Regions from separate parts of the Homo sapiens genome. Here region 1 is linked to region 2. The links are contacts of gene promoters, found by promoter capture Hi-C in blood cells and fetal thymus (Javierre and others, 2016). All regions are on one chromosome and are shown on one strand. Each heading gives the region's core, a stretch centred on a gene start or on the middle of the fragment in contact. The rest is flanking DNA. Distances are from core to core; before and after follow the strand shown. Region 1 has its middle 39 kb from the start of PSMD11. Region 2 holds the start of RHBDL3 (rhomboid like 3).

Region 1 (3,395 bases), core at 97-2,596, 140 kb after region 2:
AGGCAAGAGCCTGGAATGGTTAAGACAACGTTAAAGAAGAAGAAGAATGTGAGACTTACCCTTATAGAGACCGCAATTAACCATAAAGCCATAGATGTTCTCAAGCCTAGTATAGCGCCTGACACACAGTAGTTAATGAATGTTTGCTCAGTAGACTGATGGGTGGAACAATGAGTTGCTTGGGGGTCAGGATTAACTCTGGAAGTGGTAGTTGTGGGAAGGGTTGAACCTGAAGATTAGGGCGACTCAGAACTGCAAAGACCAGGGAAGTTGGGTTCTGAGAAGGGGCAGGACAGAGAGCTGACTAATTTGTTTCATTTGTCTACACATACCCTTAAGCAAATTTTATCTTGTACAGTTTGAGTATGGGGTTTATGTTTTCTTAAAATTCAGCAAGCCTTTAACAGGAATGTACTCAGTATTAAGTGTGGTGTCAGATTGGCTGCAGTGTAGGAAAGCTTTTATTCCATGGGAAAGAAGTCCATGATTTTTGGAGCTATCTATTATGCAGTTATGTTGCTATAGATTTAGTTATTTGGATCTCATGATTGAAATAGTATTTTAAATTGGGGACATCTTTTGTTTGGGAGAGGTTGTTTAGAAATGACAGGTGAAGAATAAAATTATTAGAGTAAAATTTGGCCATATGTGACATGGGCATTAATGATCCAATGATTTATATATGCCAGTAATAGAATTTACAAAGGACAGCCAATGGTGAGATGCTGTTCTCTGGTGGCATTCTGGTAATAACCAGCTCTCGTATGGTGCTTGATAGTTTCCAAAGTACTTTTGCATACCTTATGTTATTTGTGCCTCCAAGGTATGTAAAGGAGGTTTATTTCAATTCAGTGATCGTTTATTGAGCATGTTTTGTGCCAAGTTTTGTACTAGATCTTGGGAAACCAGCAATGAGGCAAAGAACTTGACTCCAAGTTAACATAGACAGGTAACACTGGGATACACGCACAACCAGGAGTTTAAGTTTGGAAACAATAATTAAGGAGGGAGACATATGATTAGGATGTGGTAATGGTAGGTTGTGATGGCTTTCCTAGGCTTTGTTATATTTTTTGTTTCAAGGAAGAATTGTGTGTTTTACACCACTTTGAAACTATCTTTCACAATTTACATAGCTGATAATATACTTTTTTTTTTTTAAAGCAGTCTAGCTCTGTTGCCCAGGCCGCAGTGCAGTGGCACCATCTCAGCTCACTGCAATCTCTGCCTGCCGGGCTCAAGCGATTCTCCTGCCTCAGCCTCCCAAGTAGCTGGGACTATAGGCGCGTGCTACCATGCCTGGCTAATTTTTGTATTTCTAGTAGAGACGAGTTTCACCATGTTGGCCAGGCTGATCTCAAACTCCCTACCTCAAGTGATCTGCTGCTTTGGCCTCCCAAAGTGCTGGGATTACAGGCATGAGCCACTGCGCCCAAACATCTGATGATATACTTTGTTGTTGTTGTTGTTGAGACAACGTCTTGCTCTGTCGCCCAGGTTGGAGTGGTGTGATTTCAGCTCACTGCAACCTCCACTTTCCGGGTTCAAATGATTTTCCTGCCTTAGCCTTCTGAGTAGCTGGGACTACAGACACGTACCACCACACCTGGCTAAATTTTTGTAGTTTTAGTAGAGATGGGGTCTCACCATGTTGGCCAGGCTGGTCTCGAACTCCTGACCTCAGGTGATCCATCCTCCTCGGCCTCCCAATGTGCTGGGATTACAGGCATGAGCCACCACGCCCTGATGATATACTTTTGAAAATTATATTACATTTTCTACAGTTACACTGTCTTTCCTCTGAAAAATCTGGGTGATCTGTTAGAACATTTGATCTAAGCTACACTCCTTGATAATGTATTTGTCGAAGGAATGATTAATTTATGTGCATAATTTAGTCCTTTGCATACAAAATGCAATTTTGTTTATTAGAAATATTTTAGATAATGCTTTGTAGGATTTTTGTGTTATTTTTAGGTCTGAAAAAGATGAAGAATAAAACATGGCAAGTCTAGAGGGAGGCACTGCTTGAAGTGCGTGAAACAAATCAAGCATCAACAAAAATAGAAGCCCTTGAGATGAAGAACAGAAAATCTGTGATTATTATCATTATTAGCTTTACAGGGATGTTGAAGTGATCAGGATATCAATGACATAATTAAGTGGTATTATATTTTTAAAATTTGAGAAATAAGGAAACCATTGCTTTAGGATATGTCTCTTATGTACTCAGAAAAGCTTGCTTTTGTAAGTTAAGCCTCAATGATGAATAAATAGTGCATTTGTGGCTGGGCGTGGTAGCTCATGCCTGCAATCCCAGCACTTTGGGAGGTTGAGGCAGACAGATCACCTGAGGTCAGGAGTTTGAGACAAGGCTGGCCAACATGGTGAAACCCTGTTTCTACTAGAAATACAAAAAATAAGCCAGACATGGTGGTGCACACCTGTAGTCCCAGCTACTCGGGAAGCTGAGGCAGGAGAATCACTTGAACCCAGGAGGCAGAGGTTGCAGTGAGTCGAGATTGCACCACTGCACTCCAGCCTGGGCGACAGAGTGAGACTCCATCTAAAAAAAAAAAAATAGTGCATTTGTATTAATTACATGGATACAATTCTGTATACCAAAGAAAAATATCCACATTTACTGCAGATTCTTTTGTAGGCTGTGTAGAATTTCTTACTTTAGGCCGGGTGTGGTAGCTCACACCTGTAATCCCAGCACTTTGGGAGGCCAAGGCAGGCGGATCAGAAGGTCAGGAGATTGAGACCACCTTGGCCAACATGGTGAAACCCTGTCTCTACTAAAATACAAAAAATTAGCCGGGCATGGTGGCGTGTGCCTGTAATACCAGCTACTTGGGAGGCTGAGGCAGGGAACTCACTTGAACCCGGGAGGCGGAACTTGCAGTGAGCTGAGATCGCGCCACTGCACTCCAGCCTGGCGACAGAGCAAGATTCCGTCTCAAAAAAAAAAAAAAAAAAAAGAATTTCTTACTCATATGAACTTGACCCTGTAAACACTATAAGAAAAACTTCTTTGCTACAGGTTGATTTTCTTTTGGAATGGGATCCCTTTATTCTGATAATTGATTCTAACAGAAGACTTCTACTCAATGTGATAATGGAATGATTTGGAGCAACTCTACTATCAAATCAGGGAAAGCTAGCCTCCAGGGTGATCCAGAGGTTCTGCTGTCACCTTACAAACCCAAGACAAGATTTTTCACCAGGACTGGGCTTTGGATAACATATACGTTCCATAACAATACCTCGAAGGAGGCATGTGTTTACATGGCCTAGTGATTTTCTCTGGTTGCTTTTGTGGAATTCAGATGCTGATTTTATCAGTGACTAACCATGACATGTGGGGACATTGTAAGATAATTGGTAAGTTT
Region 2 (3,245 bases), core at 236-2,735:
CCCTTTTCTGTGCCCTTCTCCTTCCAGTTCCCCTGGAACCAGACTTCCTGGCCCACTTCTCTAGTCCCAGAGATCTAAGTATAACAGAGCCAACACCCATACCGGTCATGCAAATGACAGCCTGGGATGCGGGAGGCAGCGACACAGACCCCAGGGCCCCAGCGGTCATTTGTCCTTCTGGGCTCCTCTTCACAAAGGAATCAGCCTCTCTTCTGTCCCCTGAAGGCTGTTTTCAAAATCACACCCCATGCAGACAGTTTTATTTACAAGGAAATCTTGGCAGGATCTTGACTTGTTAGTAGAGTAGGGATGGGGAGGAGGGTGGTGAGAAACAAAAATAGTTGAAATGATCACACTTTCTGAAACAGAGATGAAAATTGGTGTCTGTAGCAAACTCACCTAATTAGAATCAAGTGAATTCCCTTCTCGGTGTTTAAGGGGAGCAGTCATTGCTGGGTGATGGTCGCAGTTCGGATCCTGGGCACGGGGTTATGTCTTTGCTTTCTGAAGATGACTGCATTAGTTGCAGCTCTCACTAATGGAAAGGAGCCTGTTCCGTTTCCCAGAGGAAGGAAGAGGGCAAAGACTAGTGAGTGAGTGGGTGGTGGGAAGAGGAAAGCAAGAGGAGTGGAAGGGCACAGCCTTGGTGTGGGCTGGGGACTGACTGCGAGATGCCTCCTGGAGAAGCTCCTGAGCCTCTGGGGAGAGCTGGCCCCTGCCAGGCCGGCCACTAGCACCATTTACAGCCAGAGCCTCTGCTTCGGGAGATGGTCTCTCTTGGGGGCGCTTTCCTGCAGGGAAACAGCATCGATTGTTTTCTTTAAAAGATCCCCTACTCCGTTTTGGCTAACTTCCTTTCTGATTGCTTTAGTTTCTTTACCGTCCCTCTCCCCAGATGGGGCATTTCCCTGGGCTTACCTTTGTCCATGTGGTCAAATGAAGCCTGGGCATGGTCACTTAGCTCTGGGTGTAGGAAGGGCAAGATTTAGGCTTTGGGGCCCACGACCCCGCAATCTGACTTCTCCCATTTCTGGGCCTCCCGAGACCTCCCAGAATCTGAGACCGCAGTGAATAGGGCGTAAGGATAATGGGGCGGGAGGCAGGAATCCCGTCCTTACAACATCGCGCCCCCAATTCACTCCTAGTTAACCCTGACGTCGCCAACATAGTGTCTCCATCACATATCTGCCACCTCCAAGTGATGGTTAAGCCGATGGAAGAGCCAAGCCCGGGCCCGGAGTGCAGGCCGGTGGTGACCGGGCCGGGGACGGCGCAGTCCCCATCCCCGCCCCGGGCAGCGCCACCACTTCCTCGCCAGCCCCGCCGCAGCCCTCCCGCTCCCGGGCCGCGCCGCTCTGACCGACTGGGCCCGGGTGGCGGCGCCCGGGGTGGGGTGCGGGGCGGGGGCCGGCGTTCCCCGCGAGCAGCCCCGCCCCCGCCCGCGCGCCGCCCCCGAGGACTCCGCGGGGAGGAGGAGACTCGGGCGCAGAGCGGGGGCCGCGAGAAGCGGGAAGGGAGCGCGGGGAGCGGCGGGGCCGGGGCCGGCCCAAGGGCGCCCTCGCCTCGGAGCCGGGCGCGAGGGCCGGGGCGGAGGCGGAGGCCGGCGGGGCAGCTAGCGCAGTGAAGTTTGGCGGCGGAGGGGCCGGGCGTCCCGGGGTCGCGAGGAGGCGGCGGCGGCGCGGGGACCGGGGCCATGGGGGCGGGCGCGGGCTGCGGAGCGGGCGCGGAGGCGGCGCGGCGCGCACTGAGCCCCTGGAGCGGCGCGGCCGCCGCGGCGCAAAGTTAGCCCGGCGCCCCGGGACGAGCCCCGCAGCCGCCGCCGCCCCCGGACCCCGTCTCGGCCATGGGCGAGCACCCCAGCCCGGGCCCCGCGGTGGCCGCCTGCGCCGAGGCGGAGCGCATCGAGGAGCTGGAACCCGAGGCCGAGGAGCGGCTGCCCGCGGCGCCGGAGGACGTGAGTGCCCCCTCCCCGCCCGGCAAACTTTCTAGGGGGCGCCGGGGGGAAAAGCCGCCCCTGTCTCGCCCCACGCCGGGCAACTTGGAGGTTTCAGGGTGACGCGGGAGCGCCCCGGATTGGCCGGGTCCCCGCGGGCAGGAGGGGGCGGAGGGACCGGTCTCCCCGAAACGCGCGCGCACCGCTTCCCCCGCTCTGGTTCCCGCGGCTTCCCTGCGGGACACAGCACCGCCACTGCGCCGCGGACCTGTCACCGCCGGAGCCCCCTCCCCGCCGCTGGTGCAGTGCCCGGGACACGGCGTTTTCCCGCAGAGGCGGCCGCGTCACGGCGGTGACTCCCCCTCCCCTCACGCCCGCGACCTGCGAGCTCCCGGAGCTGGGGAAGGAGCGGACGCCGCAGAGTCCCCGTCCCTGGCCATGCAAGCCGGCCTGGCGACCCCTTCCTCCGCTCCCGGATTAGCTCCCGCCCGGCACCTGCCTTGCCGCGACACTGATTGAAATTCAAGCCGGCCCCCGCCTCTGACCCCGGCCGGAGCAGGGAGGCAAAGAGTGCTGGGAGCGGCTTTGCTCCTAGAAGGAGGCCCGGGAGTCCAAGACCGTGGCGGTGCCAGGGGACGGTCCCCTGGGCGAGGAGAGGGAGGGGCTGCCCCGAGGGCTTCCCCGCCGTCTGCTGCTCGGGTCTCCATCCCTCCGGTCCTGCGGGCCGGCCCTGCGAAGCCCTGGGAACTGGAGTTTCTTGGGTTAACCTCCCGGGGCTAACCTACACATAGGGGTGAAAAACCGGGCAGACACCCTGCCCTGCCCACTCCTCCCTCAGGGTGGGGAGATGGAAGTGAAACCAGGCCCCCAACCCACACAACGAAAGCGGGAAAGTCTGAATGGGGTTGGGGGGTAGTTTACGATCTTCTCTCTTTGGCGTCTGCGGTTAAATCTATCACTTCCTTCTGGCCCTAAACCCCTGGCAGAATCTGATGTAGTCACCACTTAGACTCAGCCTTGGAAGAGAATGGGTGGGCTTCACCGCATTCGGCATTCACCACCCCCCCTTCCCCGCAAAAAAACAAAAAACGAACAAACAAACAAAAAACTGCAGGCAAAATGTTAGTGTTTATGCAGAGGTGAGTTCTCCTGGGGGGGGAGGGGGGGGCTCTAGCTCCCAGCAGGTGAGACTCATTGCGCCGGGGTCTGATGGAATTGCACCTGGCCATGCTCTCCCAGGCCTGGGAGTAGCTGTGGACATAAGCTTTAGGCAGCAGAAATTATTAGAGGCGCTTGGACATATTTGGACGCC

Evidence for each region. The method cuts DNA at HindIII sites, captures the fragments that hold promoters and counts their contacts. A CHiCAGO score of 5 or more calls a contact.
Region 1: a contact is called between a fragment that was not itself captured here and the fragment with the promoter of RHBDL3 in region 2, in 1 of 17 cell types (erythroblasts). The highest score is 5.2, in erythroblasts.

What each region holds. Positions count from the first base shown.
Region 1 is chr17:32,403,516-32,406,910 of GRCh38, forward strand. No RefSeq gene overlaps it. Among named protein-coding and RNA genes, the nearest start is that of PSMD11, 39 kb to the right of the region's middle. The HindIII fragment of the contact is 1,780 bases long and covers 457-2,236 here.
Region 2 is chr17:32,264,347-32,267,591 of GRCh38, forward strand. It overlaps RHBDL3 (rhomboid like 3), which reads left to right and starts at 1,486. Exons shown (of 9, transcript NM_138328.3): 1 at 1,486-1,954. The coding sequence starts at 1,844. It overlaps LOC105371731 (a long non-coding RNA gene), which reads right to left and starts at 1,105. Exons shown (of 3, transcript XR_934665.2): 1 at 919-1,105; 2 at 400-550. The HindIII fragment of the contact is 5,065 bases long and covers 1-3,195 here.